2 separate regions of the Homo sapiens genome follow, and region 1 is linked to region 2. The links are contacts of gene promoters, found by promoter capture Hi-C in human tissues and cell types (Jung and others, 2019). All regions are on one chromosome and are shown on one strand. Each heading gives the region's core, a stretch centred on a gene start or on the middle of the fragment in contact. The rest is flanking DNA. Distances are from core to core; before and after follow the strand shown. Region 1 holds the start of ESRP2 (epithelial splicing regulatory protein 2). Region 2 holds the start of CES2 (carboxylesterase 2).

Region 1 (2,915 bases), core at 156-2,655, 1.3 Mb after region 2:
GGAGAAGTATAAACACTAATCAGTGACCCACGAACCCTCCCTGCCAATTCTGTGACACTTTACAACTTGGGGCTGACAGAGCAAGGCAACCCAGCTCTCCTCCAGCAAACTCCCCAAGTGAAGGGCCGGGAGCCCTTCTGGAACAGACAAGGAATCATCATCGTGGTGCCTCCTCATCAGGAACCACAAGAGTTGTTGGAAGATGAAAGAACGTGAGTGTATAAAAAGGACTTACACTAATTACACTCAAGAGTCAGACATAGAATGAGCGCCGTAGTGAAGATAAGGAAAAGAAAACAGCAATGGAAACCACCTCCCACTTCAGCTAGGGCAGGAGGCACCCCAGGCCTTTGCACTCAGCAGGCAGATAGTCCCCCAGGCCAGGCCGGGACAGCGCCCACGCCTGGCCAGCCGGCCGGGACAGGCCTAGACGAGCAGTTTACACCTGGCGGCGTCTACCTCTAGGGCCGACACCGCCCTACGCCTCCGCTCCAGCAGCTCCCAAGCAGGCCGAAGACGCGGGCCGCAAGGACAGGTGACCTATATGGGCCCCTCGACCCCTTTCGCTTCCGGCTGCGGCTCAGGGAGACCTGACCCAGCAGGTCTCCCAAAGGCGTCTCGGCCTCGCTCCCCGGGCGGGAACTGGGGATGGATCCCAAAGCCTGCGTCCCGATCCCTTCGGTAGGAGTAGGTTCCTGCAATGGTTGAAAAGTAAGGAGCCCAGGGGAATGGCTGGCACGCGCGGATGAAAGGGGCACGCACACGCGAGAGTCGCTCAAAGTTTCAAACAAGAGCCCAGTCCTGCCGCCTGGACCGGTTGGTTGCGGCACGCCAGGCCTAGCCTCCGGCCGCCAATCCCGCCCAGAAATGTCCTCACGTCCAGGCCATGCCGCCACCCACCCCGGCGCTCACCTGCTGCAGCACCTTGTCCAGCGGCTCTGCCCGCGCCAGGCTGTCGGCGCTCAGGCCGCTCGCCTCGCGGCACTGCGTACTCAGTGCGGCCGCCTCGGCACGAACCAGCGATTTGTGCAGCGTCCCCACCTGTGAGCGGCGGGGGAAACCGATCAGCCGCGCCCCTCGACCCCGGAAGCTCCCTGGGGACCTCACCGCCTCTTTTCCACCCTACCTGGCGGCTCCGCGGCTCAACCACTTGCCAAACTAGGAGGATTAAGTCGGTCTCGTCCGAGCCCAGGTCCCGTCCCAGCGCACCCGCCGTAGCCCCGAAGAGGACGACCAGTGATCCGGGCCAGGGGCAGGGGTCCGCGGCGGGGTCGGCCGCGGGGTCAGGGCCCGGGGGAGGGGGCGGCGGCGGCGGCGGAGTCATGGCCGCAGAGGAAGGGGGCTCTCGGCCAGACACGCGGACCGACGAGGCGCACGCACGCACCGACCGACCGCAGACGCGGATCAGCTTGGGCGGGACACCGTGTATCGGGGGCGGCACCTGCGGCCCGGCTGGCTCAGTGGGCGCTGCCAAGACCCGCCCGTGGCGCCCCGCGGGGCGGGGCGGCTACCGGCCCACGCCCTCTCCAGGCGAGTTACCTGCCGGCCCCGCCGGCCACGTGACCGGGGCGGCTCCGGGAACCTTGGGGGAGGGCCGCCAGAACTCAACCCAGGACGCAAGAGCTCACGCTCCCGGCCTGGGCGCACGCTTAGGATCCGGATTCCTACTTCCAGGGCTGGTCCTGCCTGATTTTGGGGGCTAACCCATTCTTCCGCTCTCCCCCCACTCTTCCCCAGGGGTCGTCAGGCCTCTGCAAAGGAGCGTGCAAGACAGAGGCCTTCTCCAGTATGGAAGTCACCAGGAGGCAGTCTAGGGGCTGTGGGGGTCAACACGGCAGGTCTGGGGTTGATGGAAGTCAAAGGGTCAAGGGGGCGGTGAGAGTTGCCGGGTATCACCCTGTAGGGGGATCACCAGAAGTCACCTGGGAAAGGGGAGGGCGGCGGGAACATCAGCGTTGTTAGAGCTGTGGGGTGGTCACCAGGGATCACAGGGAAGGGCTTGTCCACGCAGATGCTAGGGCCGAGCGCTAGCCTGGCACTGAGAAGTGCCAGAGCGCGGTCGTTGTGGGTTGGGAGTGGGCAGGCCTCAATGCTGGGGAAAGGAACCCCCCAAATCGCAGAGAGCTGCACCCTAGACGAGGCTGAGAGGGGTAGAACGGGCCTGGAGCCTCACTCCTACCCCACGTGTGGGGGCCTGCCTGCTTTCGTCCCTTTCTGGACGGTGGAGAAGCTGCCTGGAGATTGCGAGCGCTCTGGCCGATGGGGGGCTAGCGTTGAGCGTGTGTGCGCGCATGCGGGCTGCAGATCCTCCCTTTTCCATCCCGCACCTACAACCCAATTGACAGCCCCGCATTTGGGGCTCCCATTCCTCCCTTTGCCCAGTGGAGCTTGGTGAGGCTCCTTTATGGCGCGTTTCCCGGCCGTTCCTTACTTTCCCAAACTCTCCCAGGGAGGTGACTGAGAAACTGAATAAGTGACTGAGAAACTGAATAATCCAGCAGGAAGGAGGGGGCTCCAGCGTGGCGGGAACTGAGTCACGCGGTTGCCTAGCCCGACTCGAGACTGAGACGGGAGCCGCACCACGCGCTTTCGGACAAGGAGGGTGCTGCGGCCCGGCCCCTGGACAATGGAGAGAGCGGGGCACCCGGGCGCATCACCAGAGCTCATGCCCGGGAAAGGGGCGAGGCCCGGGGGGAGAGAGCTCAGCGTAGCTCCACTTGGCAGCTAAAGAAACAGGCGCCCGGGACGGAAATGACTCGCGCCCGGACACGGCGACAGGGAGAGCATGGGAAGTGCTTCCTTCGCCCGGCGGGTTCGAGCGAGTAGCACTTTACTTTCCCTACAGGTGGAGGCGGGCCTTGGTGCGCGGCTGTCCATCTCCGGACCGCCCACCCGGGCACTGGCCCATGCGTCTC
Region 2 (3,281 bases), core at 102-2,601:
CACTGCTCCCCCCACCGCAAGCCCCCGGAACCCGCCCGCGCCCAGCAGCGGCGGATATCGAAGATCTCGCGTGCGTCGATGCTGTCGGGAACCTGCTCGTCCTCCTCGCCTGCCGTCACAGGCCGCTCCCCAGAGCGCTGGTAGATGAGGGGGTTGGCATTCTCCAGGAGGCCGCCGCCGACCCCGCCGCCGCCTACCATCGCGGAACCACCACCGCTGATCCTAGCAGGCGTGCGCTTCCGCTCCAACCCGCGCACTTCCGGAGAACGGGAAGGGGGCGTGGCGTGGCGACGGAGTCGCGCGAGGGACACGCCGCGTTGTGGGTTCTCGGCCTGAGGTGCGAGAGAAGCGGTGACCGCGGCCCTGGCTGCTCGGACCCGGGAACATGATGGTCGCTGGAGCAGAAGGCGCTGAGAAGGGACCACGGCGGCGCTGGGTCGTGCGAGCCAGTAGCGGGCTGAAACGTAGAGGCCAGAACCAGGTCTCAGGGGGCACTAAAGGCGGTCGGAGGTAATCCCCACACCGCTTCCTCCTGGAAGTCAGGCTGGCCGGGAGCTCCCGTATCCAGGACGGTTGGTCGCCTCTGGCCTGGCAGGGATCCTAGTGTCTCGGGACCTCCCGGTGACGCGCCTGCCTCCCCTGCTGCACCATAGGCCCGGGAGTACGGCGTCCCCACAGCTTGGACCGGCAGGGGCTCGTGAAATGTTTGTCAAGTGGATAAATGACCATGGCCGTGGTCTCCGCGGGAGGTGAGGAAACTGAAAGCCACCGAGGAAAAGGGGGGCGCTCCTTAAGAAGTGCCGCGGTCACGTGTACGTTTCAAAAGAATGGCGTGACTGAGTAGGGAGGGGACCGCGGAGACCCTCAGACCCTGGACTGTAAGGAGATGAGGGGCCGTGAAGGGGAACCCAGGAAACTGAGTCCTGAAAGCAAGGAGGAACTTCCAGAATGAAGGGCGCCGACACTCCTTCCTGCCTTTGCTCAAGCGGTTCCTTCACCCCGATCAAGTTCCTTCCCATTTCTCCATCTGGGGGATCCTGAACGTGCACATCCTCAGAGAAGCCCTCCTGGGGTCTCCAATTCTAGTTTATTGCCCCCTCCTATCGATCCCCCAGCGCGCTCATCGGGCCTGTGGACAAGGACAGGTTTGAAGAGAGGATTCCCTGGATCGCGGAAGGGCTGCAGGAATGGCACAGCCCCTTCCGAGGATGCCAAAGGAGCCCGGGCAAAGGAAAGTGGCCGTGCCCGGGCCTGCCTACCACTAGATCCCCACCCACCTATGACTGCTCAGTCCCGCTCTCCTACCACACCCACCTTTCCCGGCCCAAGCCAGCGCACCCCGCTGACTCCCTGCCCAGTCCAAACTCCAAGGCTGGGCAAGGCACTGATCCACTGCTGGACAGACCCGGGGCAGCCTCTGGGTGAACAGCAGCGTGTCCGCCGGCAGCGAACCGAGACCAGCGAGCCGACCATGCGGCTGCACAGACTTCGTGCGCGGCTGAGCGCGGTGGCCTGTGGGCTTCTGCTGCTTCTTGTCCGGGGCCAGGGTGAGGCTCCCTCGGAGGGGCGACAGGGACCGGGCTCAGATCTGCCAAATGCTGCGGAGGCAGAACCTGACAGTGCGGGAGGGCAGGCGCCTGGGAGGTAGGAGCTGGTGGAGATGACAGCGTGGAACTCGTGAGCCCCACGCAACGCCTCCCCGCCGCCCAAGGTGGGCTCCTAGAAGCACAGAAAGGGTCGGGCTGGGGGACACCACGGCAAGGAACCAGCGGAGTACAGGGGCCCCAGGAGCGCCGGGACATGCCAGGCCGGGTAGGCAGCCTGGGGTCGGAGTGGGTGAGGGATTGGGGTGTGGGGATTCAGTCCATTTCCCTCTTATGATTGTGGCTGTAGCGGGTGCTGCCGGCCGGTAATAACAGTAATAGCTTCTGGCAGCATCTGGCTCTCAGTGTGTGGCGTCCTTGGCCAGGGGGGATGCCCTGAGCCCTCCAAAGGGGCCTCAGACAAGGATAGTGGTCCTTGGGGAACAGAAGCCCCCAGGCGCCAAATCCTAAAGCAGATCTAAGAGGCCACAGTGGCTGGGTGCGATTGGCTCACTCCTTTAATCCCACCACTTTAGAAGGCCAAGGGAGAGTATCGCTTGTGCCCAGGAGTTGGAGGCCAGCCTGGACAACATAGTGAGACTCGGAGTGTACAAAAAATTGAAAGAAATTAGTGGGCTGTGGTGGTCTGTGACCTGTAGTCCCAGCTACTTGGGAGGCTGAGGTGGGAGATCACTTTAGTAGGGGAGGTTGAGGCTGCAGTGAGCCTTCATCCCACTACTGCACTCCAGCCTGGGTGAAAAAGCAAAAATCTGTCTCCAGAAACAAGAACCAAAGAGCTCGTGGTGTCCCTCATGCCATTTACCTCATCCTGGGCAAGGGCACAACTTGGCTTCCAGGGCAAAGGTGAAGGCTCTGTGTGCCTGCCAGGCTTCTCCAGGCCCTTATCAGAAGCTGGGGGAGTGTTTCGGCCTTTGGTCCTCTCACCCGAAACTCTCCTAAGTGTATGATCTGTCTCTTCCAACCCTTCCCCAATTTAATTTGCGCAGGTGGAGTCCATACTCCCCCCGCCCCATGGTGCACTGCTGCAGGGCTTCCTCCCGTGCCTGCCCTTGACCACATTCTAGAGTTCACCAGGAGCCCAGCAGGAAGATCTGCCTGGCCTCACAGATGGCTACCTTTTAAAATATTTTGGGCCAGGCACAGTGGCTCACACCTGTTATCCCAGCACTTTGAGAGGCAGAGATGGGAGGATCACTTGAGGCTAGGAGTTAGAGACCAGCTTGGGCAACAAGACTTGTCTCTACCAAAAAAAAAAAAAAAAAAAGTCAAGCATGGTGGCAGACAGCTGTACTCCAAGCTACTCAGGAGGCTGTGGCGGGAGGATCTCAAGCCCAGGAGGTGGAGGCTGCAGTGAGCTGTTATCATATTACTGCATTCCAGCCTGGGCAACAGATGGCGACCTTGTCTGACAAATATATATGTATACAAAATTTTGGGTTGGACCCACATTCAGAAAAAATAATTGACAAGCCATAGGAGGGTACAGGTGATGTGTGCCATCCTCTTTTTACCCAACCAGTCCTGGCTTCTCCTCAGGGGCCATCAAAGTCCCCATGGCCCACACTGGAAACTGCTTGTTGACACCGCAGTACACACAGTGCCCAGCAGTTTACACAAGAATAGATGTGTGCACTTGTCCTTGATTTTCATCTAAACAGTCATAAACTCACCCACTTT

What was found. The method cuts DNA at HindIII sites, captures the fragments that hold promoters and counts their contacts. A contact is called where the count stands out against the background at its distance.
Region 1: a contact is called between the fragment with the promoter of ESRP2 here and the fragment with the promoter of CES2 in region 2, in 1 of the 25 tissues and cell types used here (spleen).

Annotation. Positions count from the first base shown.
Region 1 is chr16:68,234,722-68,237,636 of GRCh38, forward strand. It overlaps ESRP2 (epithelial splicing regulatory protein 2), which reads right to left and starts at 1,406. Exons shown (of 15, transcript NM_024939.3): 1 at 1,127-1,406; 2 at 913-1,041. The coding sequence starts at 1,324. RefSeq lists silencers at 1,354-1,583, 2,894-2,915 and enhancers at 1,605-2,193, 2,194-2,781, 2,782-2,915. The HindIII fragment of the contact is 21,026 bases long and covers 1-2,915 here.
Region 2 is chr16:66,934,165-66,937,445 of GRCh38, forward strand. CES2 (carboxylesterase 2) reads left to right here and starts at 1,352. Exons shown (of 12, transcript NM_001365405.1): 1 at 1,352-1,547. The coding sequence starts at 1,472. It overlaps CIAO2B (cytosolic iron-sulfur assembly component 2B), which reads right to left and starts at 238. Exons shown (of 5, transcript NM_016062.4): 1 at 59-238. The coding sequence starts at 200. RefSeq lists enhancers at 1-123, 962-1,574. The HindIII fragment of the contact is 13,939 bases long and covers 1-3,281 here.